Regions from separate parts of the Homo sapiens genome. Here regions 2 and 3 are each linked to region 1. Evidence: promoter capture Hi-C in human tissues and cell types (Jung and others, 2019). All regions are on one chromosome and are shown on one strand. The core of a region is centred on a gene start or on the middle of the fragment in contact, and the rest is flanking DNA. Distances in the headings are between cores, read along the strand shown. Region 1 holds the start of GSS (glutathione synthetase). Region 2 has its middle 4.9 kb from the start of MIR1289-1. Region 3 overlaps MMP24-AS1-EDEM2 (MMP24-AS1-EDEM2 readthrough).

What was found. Contacts are between HindIII fragments. The study calls those that stand out against the background at their distance.
Region 2: a contact is called between a fragment that was not itself captured here and the fragment with the promoter of GSS in region 1, in 2 of the 25 tissues and cell types used here (bladder and dorsolateral prefrontal cortex).
Region 3: a fragment that was not itself captured here is called in contact with the fragment with the promoter of GSS in region 1 in 1 of the 25 tissues and cell types used here (hippocampus).

Annotation. Positions count from the first base shown.
Region 1 is chr20:34,954,024-34,958,392 of GRCh38, reverse strand. It overlaps GSS (glutathione synthetase), which reads left to right and starts at 2,587. Exons shown (of 13, transcript NM_000178.4): 1 at 2,587-2,666. It overlaps MYH7B (myosin heavy chain 7B), which reads right to left and starts at 2,525. Exons shown (of 45, transcript NM_020884.7): 1 at 2,386-2,525; 2 at 181-295. RefSeq lists enhancers at 2,260-2,439, 2,680-2,779. The HindIII fragment of the contact is 12,827 bases long and covers 1-4,369 here.
Region 2 is chr20:35,447,050-35,451,418 of GRCh38, reverse strand. It overlaps a transcript of GDF5 not described here. Among named protein-coding and RNA genes, the nearest start is that of MIR1289-1, 4.9 kb to the left of the region's middle. The HindIII fragment of the contact is 8,774 bases long and covers 1-4,369 here.
Region 3 is chr20:35,212,844-35,217,212 of GRCh38, reverse strand. All of the region lies in intron 4 of MMP24-AS1-EDEM2 (MMP24-AS1-EDEM2 readthrough), which reads left to right. It also overlaps a transcript of PROCR not described here. Among named protein-coding and RNA genes, the nearest start is that of MMP24, 12 kb to the left of the region's middle. RefSeq lists an enhancer at 654-1,153. The HindIII fragment of the contact is 7,963 bases long and covers 1-4,369 here.

The sequences.
Region 1 (4,369 bases), core at 1,338-3,837:
AGGATTTTGGAGGAAAGCACCCAGGCAGAGAGTGCAGAAAGGGCAAACGCTCCCTGGAAAGATTCTTAGTCAAGAGTCCTTCACTCCCAGTCCTACCACAAACTGGGTCACCTTGAACAAGTCACGTAACTTCTGAGGCTCAGCTGCCACATCTACAAAATGGGAATAAAGACATCTTACCTGCCACATTGTGAGAGGTTTCAACCAAAGGGCTGTTAAGGTCTGGGATCCTCCCCAAATCTCACCATAGACACCTGATACTCATCACTTGGCACCCGTCTTGGAAGAGGGGAACCTGCACAGAGAACCCTGGGTCATGCTTTTGATTTTTAATTTCATGCTGCACTAGAAATAGCTTCTTTTGTTCCTGGTTGACCCAGGAGCCTCTTCCTGCCACCTGGGGCCTATTCTAGTTAACAGCTGCTTATCCCCTCAGGTACAAAAGCCAACGAGGAAAGGACATCAGGAAACATTGTTCTGGGAATAACCAGACACCTATCTGCCACCATCTCCCCCCATCCCGTGACCACACACGGGAGACTGGAGGACTCAGCCTGTCCTGTAGTCAGATAATGTACATGGTTTATTTAAAGAGTCAAAAGGGGCCGGGCGCAGTGGCTAACGCCTGTAATCCTAGCACTCTGGGAGGCTGGGGCGGGTGGATCACCTGAGCTCAAGAGTTTCAGACCAATCTGGCCAACATGGTGAAACCCTGTCTCTACCAAAAATACAAAAATTAGCCGGGTGTGGTGGTGGACGCCTGTAATCCCAGCTACTTGGGAGGCTGAGGCAGGAGAATTGCTTGAACCTGGGAAGTGGAGGTTGCAGTGAGCTGAGATCGTGCCACTGCACTCCAGCCTGGGCAACAACAACGAAAACTCCGTCTCAAAAAAAAAAAAAAAAAAAAAGAGTCAAAAGGATCTTGGTCCCTGGGTTGGGCCACTGATTTACGATCACTAGGAGTTCTCACTCCTAAATTTCTTTGATCTGTTCGCTTCGCTCCATCTCCACAGCTGCTGCACTGGCTACAGCCTCATGATCTCACATCTTAACTCTCTCTGCTTTCTCTGGCCCATCTCCCCACTTCCAAACCATTTGTCACGCTGTAACCAGTGCCTAACACACAAAACTAACCATGTCCTTCCCCTGCTTAAAGCCCTTAGCTCCTGTTGCTCAGTGGAACTGGCGTCTGAGGCTACCTCTCCAAGCCTAAGCGCCTAAGTCCTGTTGCAACCCTCAGGCCCTTCCTCATTATCCACACCAAACTCCTCAGTGTCTGTAAAACAAGCCGAGCAACCCTCAGAATTATATGCCTTCGCTGCTCGTTTGTTTTGTTTTTAGGACAGGGTCTCACGCTGTCACCCAGGCAGGAGTGCTGCAGCGTGATCTCAGCTCACAGCAGCCTCCGTCTCCGGGGCTCAAGAATTCTCACGCCGCAGCCTCCCGAGTAGCTGGGATTACAGGCACGGGCCAACACACCCGGCTAATTCTTGTATTTCTAGTAGAGACGGGGTTTCGCCATGTTGCCCAGCCTGGTCTCCAACTCCTGAGCTCAAGTAATCCACCTGCCTCGGCCTCTCAAAGTGCTGGGATTACAGGTCTGAGCCACTGCACCCAGCCAGCCTTTGCTGCTTTTGTTCCTGCAATTTGGAACACTGTCCCCATCCCAGCCTCTCACCTCTACCCCTACCTCCTTCACTACCTATACCTTCCTATCCATCCTTCAAGACCCCAAAAACCATCCCTGATTCCTTCAGAAAGGCAGTTTATTGCCTATCTTATCAGACTGAAAGCAGTGGCTGTGTCTTATTTATGGTTAATTCCCTAGAAGCTGGACTGATACATTCCATTTAACTAAAATTCGTATCAGGTGCTTCGGACTGCAGACAAGCCTATCACAACCCAGAAGGAAGAAACAGGGAAGGCACCTGGGGGCTGCCAAGCAATGAGGTGGGGGGTAGGAATCATGAATCCGCATATTTTTAAAAACTGCCCCAGATCCTGATGTAAACGGTACAAGAGAGTCTGAGAAACACAGGGCTCCCCTCAAACAGTCCTGACTTCAGCATTCCTGGAAAAATGAAAATCCTTTCCTTTTGCCTCTAATGCTTTCCCTGCTGGTATCCCAGGTTAAAAAAAAATAGATAAAATCAGGGGGATTTTTCTGGGACTTGGCTGGGCTGGGAAACAAGCCTGGGTTCTAATACAGGCTCAGCCCCTGACGTACTATGGGCCCCTGCCCCTCCTTGGGGCCTCCATTACCACGGCCACCCCCACCCTTATCAATTGTGTGCCCCTGAGGTAGTGACTGTCCCGCTCTGAGCATTAGTTTCCCCATCTTCCACTAGTCGTCGTCAGCTCTGACGCTCTATGAGCTATGCATACCCGTAGCTCCCCGCCGACCCCGATGGTCCCCTCCCCTCCTTCCCAAGGTCCATCCGCCAGGGTGCAGCCGACGCACTCCTAATGCTAAGGCCGCCCTCTCATCGACCGCCCCTTCCTGGCCTCGACTCAGCGCCAAAGGTATGGGTCTCTGCCCCGCCTGCTCTTTAAGCCTAGCCGGGGCGGTCAGCGCAAGCGCACTGGGTCGCATCGAGGCCCCGCCCCCTGAGCCTGGGTAGCGGCGCGAGGGCCGGGAGAACCGTTCGCGGAGGAAAGGCGAACTAGTAGGTTGGGGCGGCCACGGCGGCCGGCATGGGTCACGTTTCCTCGGGAGGAACGATGTGAGGGAGGGGTCTGGCAAGAGATTGGAATTCCGGAGGCCGGGAGACCTTGTGGCTGAAACCCTTCGTAGGAGCGGGGCAACTAGTGTCTAGTGAGGGGGTTGGGCTGGCGCGCACTGATCCCAGACTTTCCGGATCTTCTGCCTTTAGATCGGGCCGGTGTCGGGGCATGTAGGCCAGTGAGACTGGAGCCAGTTAGAGCTACAACGGGGAGCGATTAGGGCCAAACTTTGTCCAGGGTGGAAGCGAGCGGGCCCGTGAAGTGGGGCCAGCCTGGGCAGCCGACCGTGTCGTTGCCTCGGGGCCTTTCCAGGCACTGGCCTAAGTCCTGGCGATAAAGTGCGACCGATTTCCTTGTGGGCGTTTTGAGGCTTTCGGTGATCTGACCCGTCTGTCATTCATTCTTCATTCATTCATGTGATGAATGAATACAGTACTAAGCGCGGCTAATTACTAGGTAGAGAAGTGATCAAGACAAACACTGTTCCTACGGTACAGGGAAAAGTGATGGGCTGTAGAATGTAGAAGCCCGGGGCGGAGAACAGGGACAGCTTCCGGAACGAAATCGCGAGCCCAGATCAGGAGTGGTGGCGAGAGTTCCAAAGAGAAGACAGCACGTGCCAAGTCCTGGAAGGGGGACAGAGGCCAACATATCCTGGTCACTGAAGACACCTGACTCTGAATCTGTTTCACGCCCAGGGAAGAGATGACAGTGGCCGGGGCTAGGCTACAAACTCTGGAAATGGAGATAAATAAAGGAATTCAAAGTACTATATACTTAGGCAGCAAAATCCATAGGATTTGGGGAGAGTGAGATGTAGGAAACAAGTACTCAAGGCTTGGGTACCTGGGTGGGGTTCATCAGAGAAGAAGCAGATTTGTGGGAGACAACAACAAATTCTATTCTGGTTGTATGGAGACTCGCAGGAAAAAATTGGATATTCTAGTTTGAAGGTAGGAAAGTATTGCTGTGAAGATGTAGATTTGAATGTCATCAGCAAAACATAAATAAAGCCAAGGGAGGGTTGAGGCTGTAGAATGAGAAAAACAAAGGGCCCACTTAGCACCTTCATCTGATTTCTTTTCTTTCTTTCTTTTTTTCTTTTTTTTTTTTTTTGACAGAGCTTTGCTCTTGTTGCCCAGGCTGGAGTGCAATGGCACGATCTCGGCTCACTACAACCTCCACCTCCTGGGTTCAAGCTATTCTCCTGCCTCAGCCTCCCAAGTAGCTCGGATTACAGGCATGCGCCACCAGGCCCGGCTAATTTTGTATTTTTAGTAGAGATGGGGTTTCTCCATGTTGGTGAGGCTGGTCTCGAACTCCCGACCTCGGGTGATCCGCCTGCCTCGGCCTCACAAAGTGCTGGGATTACACGAGTGAGCCACCACACCTGGCCCATGGTGATTATCTTTATGTCTTATCCTCCTCCATATCCCCAGTACCTAGTCAAGGGAGTGGCATTAAATGCAAATCAGTGTTTGCCAACTAAATAAAAGCCCAACAGCAAACAGATGTTGGAATTTCAGAGTTGTGGAACGATGGGGGCTCATGGAGGGTTTCATTACTCTAATGTCAAGGTAATGGGTTCTTGTCCTGGCTCTGCCACTAGGCTTCTGTGTGACCTCTGACAAGTCTCCTCCTACCT
Region 2 (4,369 bases), core at 778-3,277, 490 kb before region 1:
GACTGGGGAGTTCTCAAAGGAGGCTGGATTGGAGGGAAAGGCAATGGATGAGTTGAAAGAAAATCAACCCTGGTCCCTGCCAGGTGAGGGGAACGGTTTCTTCCTTTATATCCTAAATTCCATCTCTAGAAATATGCCTTGTACTCAAACCCTCTCTGAGGGCTATAATATGGATCTTTCCTACACCCAGCCTTGCTCATTATTTATACATATTCCTCCTAGCCCATGCCAAGAGGCCGTCTGGACTAACTGAATTAAAAAATATATATATATATGTATGTGAAATTTCAAAATGAGGTGCTAAATCACTACATATATATTTGTGTATATATATATATATATATATATATATATTTTTTTTTTTTTTTTTTTTTTTCTGTTAGTCTAAAATCTGTTTGAAAGTTCCTAAATCCCTTATCCCAATATAAAGGGGTCTGCAGGTGGAGGATAGATAATTTGTGTGGAGATATTTCTGGCTATGAGTCCCCATTCCTCCTTGGGGAAGATTAAGAGGACATTACTTTTAACCGCTCAAACCAAGTGACTAGGAGAGGGGGCTTCCATGAGAATCTGAGATGCAGAATCCATACCATTGCACTTAGGGAGTATCGTGACCAGGATATGCTTCCTGCCTGTGAACTCTAGCAAGAAGAGACAAGCCTGCTGACTATTAGGTCCTGTTCAGTAGGGCTTCCTGGAGGTATAAAGGGACCCCAGGAACAAGAAGCTAGACAAATGGCCATTAATAGATGCCTTTGCTAAGGGAACTGCAGGAGAGGGGCCAGTAGGGAACCCCTGAAGAGTGTATAAAAGCACCCCATGATGCTTTGATGATGGATAGAGATGGCTATAAACATCTGCGAGGCCCAGAAAGCACTAAGCCAGCTATTACACTGGTTCAAAGAAGACTTTTCCCACCCCCATCTTCCTCTCCATGTTAACATGGAGACATGTTGAGTGACTAAAGTGAGCTGAGGATGACAGAGAGGGAAAAATAGAGGGAAAAAAAGTCAACCACTTTCCTCTTTCTTTCTCACTGCAAGGTAACAGTCTGGAGCACCAAAACGATAGTCTCTTGCTGCTGTTCCTCTGAGTCCATTCTTTTTTTTTTTTTTTACAGAGTCTCACTTTGTAGCCCAGGCTGGAGTGCAGTGGCACGATCTTGGCTCATTGCAACCTCCGCCTCCTGGGTTCAAGTGATCCTCGTGCCTCAGCCTCCTGAGAAGCTGGGATTACAGGCGCCCACCACCACCACACCCAGCTTTTTTTTTTTTTTTCAGTAGAGATGGGGTTTCACCATGTTAGCGAGGCTGGTCTTGAATTCCTGACCTCAAGTGATCCGCCCACCTCGGCTTCCCAAAGTGCTGGGATTACAGGCGTGAGCCGCGACGCCCGGCCCATTCTCTCTCTCTCTCTTTTTTTTTTTTTAAGAGACAGGGTTTTGCTCTTTCACTCAGGTTGGAGTGCAGTGATTTGATCATAGCTCACTGCAGCTTCAATCTCCTGGGCTCAAGCGATCCTCCTGGCTCAGCCTCCCGAGTAGCTAAGACTATAGGCCTGTGCCACCAGTCCTGGCTAATTTGTTTAAAAATTTTTTTGTAGAGATGGGGACTCACTGTGTTGTCCAGGTTGGTCTTGAATTCCTGGCATCAAGCAATGTTCCTACTTTAGCCTCCCAAAGTGCTGGGATTATAGGCTTGAGCTGCCGCGCTGAAGTTCCATTCATTCATTATTTTTAAAATATTGATTGAGCACCTACTGTGTGCCAAAAGTTGAGTTATGCACTGGGAGGGACCCAAAGAACAATAATAAATGAACTCTGTCCAGAGCCTCTGTTCACAAACTCACATGGCAGGCAAGCAAGTAAAGAAATAGTTCACACACACACAGTGTAGTAAATTCTATAAAGAGGGAGCAGCTGGCTACACAGCATCAGGCCACTATGACTTGTTTGTGAAGGATAAAAACGCTAAAATTAGCCAGGTGTGGTGGTGCACTACTGTAGTCCCAACTATTCTGGAGGCTGAGGTAGGAAGGATCGCTTGAGCCCAGGAGGTTGAGGCTGCAGTGAGCTGTGTTCAAGCCACTGCACTCCAACCTGGGCAACACAGCAAGACCCTGTCTCAAAAAAAAAAAATGCTAAGCAGACAAGCCAGGCATGGTGGCATGTGGCTGTAGTCCCACCCACTCAAGAGGCTGAGTCAGAAGAACCTCTTGAGCTTAGGAGTTTGAGACCAGCCTGGGCAGCATAGCAAGACCCCATCTCAAAAAAAAATGCTAAGCAAAGTGGCAGGGGTGGGGTGGTGGCGGGGATTCCAAGCAGCATGTGCAAAGGCACAGCAGCATGCTAGAGCATGGGATGTGTTAGGAATGCCGGACACTCCTCTTGCTGATGCCACCATCTGGTTGAATTGTGTCAATCTCCCTAGTTGGATTCCCTTTGTCAGCTGGATATTTTCTCCCTGGTCCTGACCCCGCCTCAGTAGGCAGTTCTTATTCCAGTCCTAGCCCCCTCTCACTCACTAAGTCAGGCTCGAAGTGACCAGCGTACCCAAGCTTGAGATTCTTGAAGTGGATGACATCTTTTCACTATCACTCAGGGCTTGGGCAATAAAGGATGTCCAGTCACAGTTCCCACAGGACCAGGTCCTCTCCTTCCTCAAAAATGGGCCCTTGGTCAGGCCTGATGGCTCATGCCTGTAATCCCAGCACTTTGGGAGGTGGAGGCAAGTGGATCGCTTGAAGCCAGAAGTTTGAGACCAGCCTGGCCAACATGGCGAAACCCTGTCTCTACTAAAAATACACAAATTAGCCGGGCCTGGTGTCGTGCACCTGTGATCCCAGCTGCTCGGAAGGCTGAGGCACAAGAATCGCTTGAACCTGTGAGGAGGAGGTTACAGTGAGCCAAGATTGCTCCACTGCACTCCAGCCTGGGTGACAGAGTGAGACAAAAAAAAAAAAAAAAAAAAAGTCGGGGGGGCCCTTAACTATATATATATATATATTTTTTTTTTTTTTTTTGAAAAAAACAAAAAGTCCCGTAGCCAGGACTACAGATGTGCACCACCGCGTCCAGCTTGCCTTATGTTCTTGAGCAACCCTCTTTCCCTTTCTGAGCCTCAAATTCCTCAGCTGCAATATGGGGATAACAGTACTTACCAGCTAGGGTTCTTATACACAAAGTGGGAATTAGAATTAGATGGAGGGAAGGAGGAGTGGAGGAGTCCAGCAAGGATCTGAGATTTCTGAGCTCAAGAATGACAACAAGGTTTCCAGTGATTAGAGAGGTTTCCTGTGATTAGAGAGATTGGGGTGTGAGGGGAGAGGGGAACTTTCTCTTTTAACTTTATAAACTTTGGTATTATTTGAATATTTTTACAATGAACATGATTTAATTTTATAATCAAATATATTTGGTATGAATATCATGCATCGATAAAAAGGTGTTTAAATTTTTTTTTTATTTTATAGAGACGGGCTTGTGCCATGTTGCTCAGACTGATCTCCAACTCCTGGGCTCAGGCAGTTTTCCCGCCTCAGCCTCCCAAAGTGCTGGGATTACAGGCATGAGCCACCGTGCCCTGCCTAATAAAGTTTTTAAAAAGCTGATGTTACTATATTGTGTGGAAAGTCATCTAGGAGACTGATCAGAGTTGTTGCTTCTGGGGAGGACTGAAAGACCCAGGGTCTGGGGTGGGAGGAAAATATTTTCTTTTGCATTCTTTTCTACTGTTTGAATTTTTAAAATCATGAATTCATATTACTTTTCTTCCTAATATGTATGACTTTTTATAAGTTTTAGAATTATTTTAAAAATAAAAATATTTTCTAGAATAAATATGTAAAACATGTGGTTATTTTATTCACACCCCTCTACCCACAACAGACAGACACACGCAACACTCACATACAATTTCCAGCTTCAGATTGTAGTACAGGTATTTGCAGCCCAGGGAAGGAATTTGATTGACTTATGGACAGAAGGCCCAGAGACACTCAACTCTAGCAAGGTGCAGCTCCCGAGTATCCCAGCAGGGGGAGCCCTTGAGAGCGCGTCCTGAGCAGTGGCCACTGCTGCGGAGTCTAGAAAAGAAACCAGGTTTTCATTGTTAAATTCCCACCTATGAGTGAGAACACGCGGGAATTGAACAATAAGAACACTTGGACACAGGAAGGGGAACATCACACACCGGGGCCTGTTGTGAGGTGGGGGGAGGGGGAAGGGGTAGCATTAGGAGATATACCTAATGTAAATGACGAGTTAATGGGTGCAGCATACCAACGTGGCACACGTATACATATGTAACAAACCTTCACATTGTGCACATGTACCCTAGAACTTAAAGTATAATAAAAAAATTTTAAAAAA
Region 3 (4,369 bases), core at 1,186-3,685, 260 kb before region 1:
ATGTTGATTGAGACTGATCCAGGAGAGAGGGAAAAATTGATGATGCAGGAGAGAGAGGAGAACTGCTGAAGCCATGCCCTTGAGTAAGCATGTATATGAGTGAGGAGGTTGGCTATGAGCTAGGATAATTCCTCCATAATAAGAGGAAAGAACAGGACTTTTAGCAGTACAAATCTGGTACCAGTGTGGAGAAGAGCTTAAAGGGAGAACTTGCATTTGTTGGTTACTTACTTTTTGTCTAGCATTGTTAGATGCTTTCCTCACAAGAGTTCTTTTTTATTTTTACTTGTATTTTTATTTTTTTCCAATCATATTCTTTCTAATTATTTTTATTTTTTTAGAGACAGGATCTCACTCTGTCACCCAGGCTGGAGTGCACTGGCATGATCATAGCTCACTGCAACCTCAAACTCCTGGGCTCGAGCGATCCTCCCACCTCAGTCTCCTGAGTAGCTATGACTACGGGTACGTGTCATCATGCCTGACTAATTTTAATTTTTTTTTTAAAATGGAGGTCTCACTATGTTGGCCATCCATGGCCAATATAACAGCCATGTAACAGTCACCGTGCCTGACTGCAGCAGTTCTCAATGTATGAGGAAAATGGGTTGTGACACTGTTGTAATGAGGCAAGAAAAGTTAAGAACTGAACTCAAGCTGCTGAAGATCCAAGATACTGTGCTCTTTATGCTCTGCAAAACTCCCCCACCCTTGCCCCTACCCCCACCAAATTGCATTGGCCTCTCACTGCAGATGTCAGGATGCCATCCATTTGGATAGGAAGAAACTGACACATTGGCTCAACCATAGGGTAGAGTTGCTTGTTTCTTATAAAGGAAAGAAAGATTTGAGTGGTCGTAAGAATCTGCAGTACTAGGCAGCTCTTGGTGCTGGAGGGCCTTCGCCCTGAAGCCAGGCAAATTTACCCAAAAGATAAAGACATAAAAAGAAAATGCAGGAACAAGGAAGAGTGACATTCTTTATTTTTTATTTTGTTTTATTTATTTATTTATTTGAGACAGAGTTTCGCTCTTGTAGCCCAGGCTGGAGTGCAATGGTGTGATCTCGGCTCACCGCAACCCCTGCCTCCCGGGTTCAAGTGATTCTCCTGCCTCAGCCTCCCGAGTAGCTGGGATTACAGACATGCACCACCACGCCTGGCTAATTTTGTATTTTTAGTAGAGACGGGGTTTTTCCATGTTGGTCATGCTGGTCTCGAACTCCCAACCTCAAGTGATCCTCCTGCCTCGGCCTCCCAAAGTGCTGGGATTACAGGAGTGAGCCACTGCGCCCGGCCAGAGTGACATTCTTAGTAGAGATCTGAAAGGAAATATAAATGAGAGGGTGGCTGGAGAGCACAGTCCAGCTTAGGAAGTCTCCTTGACCTCTCTCCTCCTTCCTCTGAATTCCTATTTCAGCAGCTAACAGTCAATGAAAAGCAATTTACCTACATCAAATCACTTAATCCTCACCACTGTCCTGTGAAGTGGATTCTAAGGAAAGGGTGAGAGAAGTGACCTACCCCACGACACACCTAAAAAACAGCAAAACCAGGAGTAGAACCCAAGTGTCTGACACTAAATTCATGTCCTTAACCCTTGGTGCCTTTGTTCATTCATTAATTACCTCAAAAATTCTGTAAACATTACTCAGAAGCCACTCTGTGGAAGGTACTGGGGCAAGTGAGGCCGTCTTCAGGTTAAAAAAAAAAAAAAGATAAGACTTGTGCACATAAAAGGCGTGACAAATAACCACAAAACATTACACCATTCTATAGGATTTCAGAGGGGAGTGAGGTCACTCTGGCTGGGGATATCAGGGAGATCAAGGAAGGTTTCCAAAAGGAAGTAGCATTTGAGATGAGTCTATATAAACTGGTAATATTTTAAAAGCTAATAGTTTTATATGCAATATACACAGAACATTACCACACACGTGTTCAAAAGTTACAAGCAATGGAAGACTGTGTGAAGTTTTAATTGGCAGAAAATGGAGGGTAAAAGGCCGGGCGCTGTGGCTCACGCCCGTAATCCCAGCACCTTTGGGAGGCTGAGGCGGGTGGATCACTTGAGGTCAGGAGTTTGAGACCAGCCTGACCAACATGGGTGAAACCCCGTTTCTACTAAAAACACAAAAAAATTAGCCTGGCTTGGTGGCGCGTGCCTGTAATCCCAGCTACTCAGGAGGCCGAGGCAGGAGAATCTCTTGAACCCAGGAGACAGAGGTTGCAGTGAGCTGAGATGGTGCCACTGCACTTCAGCCTGGGCTACAGAGTGAGACTCCATCTCAAAAAAAAAAAAAAAAAGAAAAAGAAAATGGGAGGTAAAGGCCTGGAGGAAGGAAAAGGTCTGATTGTTCAGGATCTAGAGAAGGTCCCAGTCCAATCCCCCGACTCAGTCTCAATGTCCAGCCCCAAATGACTTGAGAGTATTTCTTACTCAGGTTTCTCCCTTAAAAGCATATTCAAACCAATGCATACAATGGGACACTATGCAGCCTTTTGTAATTTTTTTTTTTTTTTTTTGAGATGGAGTTTCGCTCTGTCGCCCAGGCTGGAGTGCAGTGGCGCGATCTCGGCTCACTGCAACCTCCACCTCCTGGGTTCAAGCAATTCTCCTGCCTCAGCCTCCCGAGTAGCTGGGATTACAGGCGCCCACCACCACGCCTAGCTAATTTTTTTGTATTTTTTTAGTAGAGGCAGGGTTTCACCGTGATAGCCAGGATGGTCTCGATCTCCTGACCTTGTGATCCACCCGCCTTGGACTCCCAAAGTGCTGGGATTACAGGCGTGAGCCACCGCGCCCGGCCCAATGCAGCCATTTTTTAAAATGAGGAAGTACTTACGAATTTATGAATAATTAGGACATTATTTCCAAAATGTAATGTTAAGTGGTAAAAAAAAGGCAAAGGTGCAGAATCCTGGATATTGTAGGCTACTATTTGTGTAATAATCGGAAAAAAGAATACATGTGTGTGCATGCACTTGCTCATTTACACATAAAATAGGGACAGATACCCAAGGAACTGATAATAGTGCTTACTTCCTGGAGGGAAGCTTAAGTGGTTTGAGGACAGGGTGGGAAGGCAATTTTTATTTTTATTTTTTAATTTTTTTTAATTATTTTATTTTATTTTTTTGAGATGGAGTCACGCTCTGTTACCCAGGCTGGAGTGCAGTGGCACAGTCTCGGCTCACCGAAACCTCTGCCTCCTGGGTTGGAGCAATTCTCTTGCCTCAGCCTCCGAAGTAGCTAGAACTACAGGCAAACACCACAAAGCCCAGCTATTTTTTATATTTTTAGTAGAGACAGTGTTTCACCATGTTGGGCAGGCTGGTCTCGAACTCCTGGCCTCATGTGATCCGCCTGCCTTGGCCTCCCAAAAGTGCTGGGATTACAGGTGGGAGCCACCATGCCTGGCTGGAAGGAGATTTTTCTCACTGTATACCTTTTTGTATCTTTTGACTTTTTAATCATGTGGATATATTATCTCTTCAAAAAATAAGTACAAGCTGAGCATTTTTTCCCTTTAATATTGTATGTTCTCCAAATGAACAAGCTGAGCTTCTAAAAAAATAAGTGTAATAGTCTCTAAAGGCCACTCCCTGAAAAGAGGGCTTATATTGCAAAATACTGGTATACAGTGAAAGCAGTAACAGTTCACTTAGGTTTCAAAAATTCAGGCCTTCATCTGCATGGCCAAAAAAAAAGCAGAAATAAAGCAACAAACTATAAACTAGGTAAAATATTTATTATTATTTTTTTAACGTAAAACAGCTGTTATAAACCAATAAGAAAAAGACCTATGACCCAATTCAATAATGGCGAAGGACTAAATGGGCTTCATGCAAACAGAAATATAAATGGACTCTTTTTTTTTTTTGAGACAGTCTCGCTCCGTTACCCAGGATGGAGTGCAGTGGCACGATCTTAACTCACTGCAACCTCTGCTTCCTTGGTTCAAGCGATTCTCATGTCTCAGCCTCCCAAGTAGCTGGGACTACAGGCACATGCCACCATACCTGACTAATTTTTTTGTGTTTTTTGTAGAGACGCGGTTTTGCCGTGTTGGCCAGGCTGATCTGGAACTCTTGGCCTCAAGTGATCCATCTGCCTCGGCCTCCCAAAGTGCTGGGATTATGGGCGTGAGCCACTGTGCCTGGCCTGAACAGACTCCTATAATAATTTTTTAAATGACCAACCATGTTTGTAATTAAAGAAAGGCAAATTAAGACAATCAGCCACTGCTTTCTTAACATTATCAGACTGCAAATACCAAAAGGTTGGATACTACAGAGTGTTAAAGAGGGCATGATAAAACAGATACTCCTCCATACTGTTGGAAGAGATACAAATTGGTTTACTCTCTT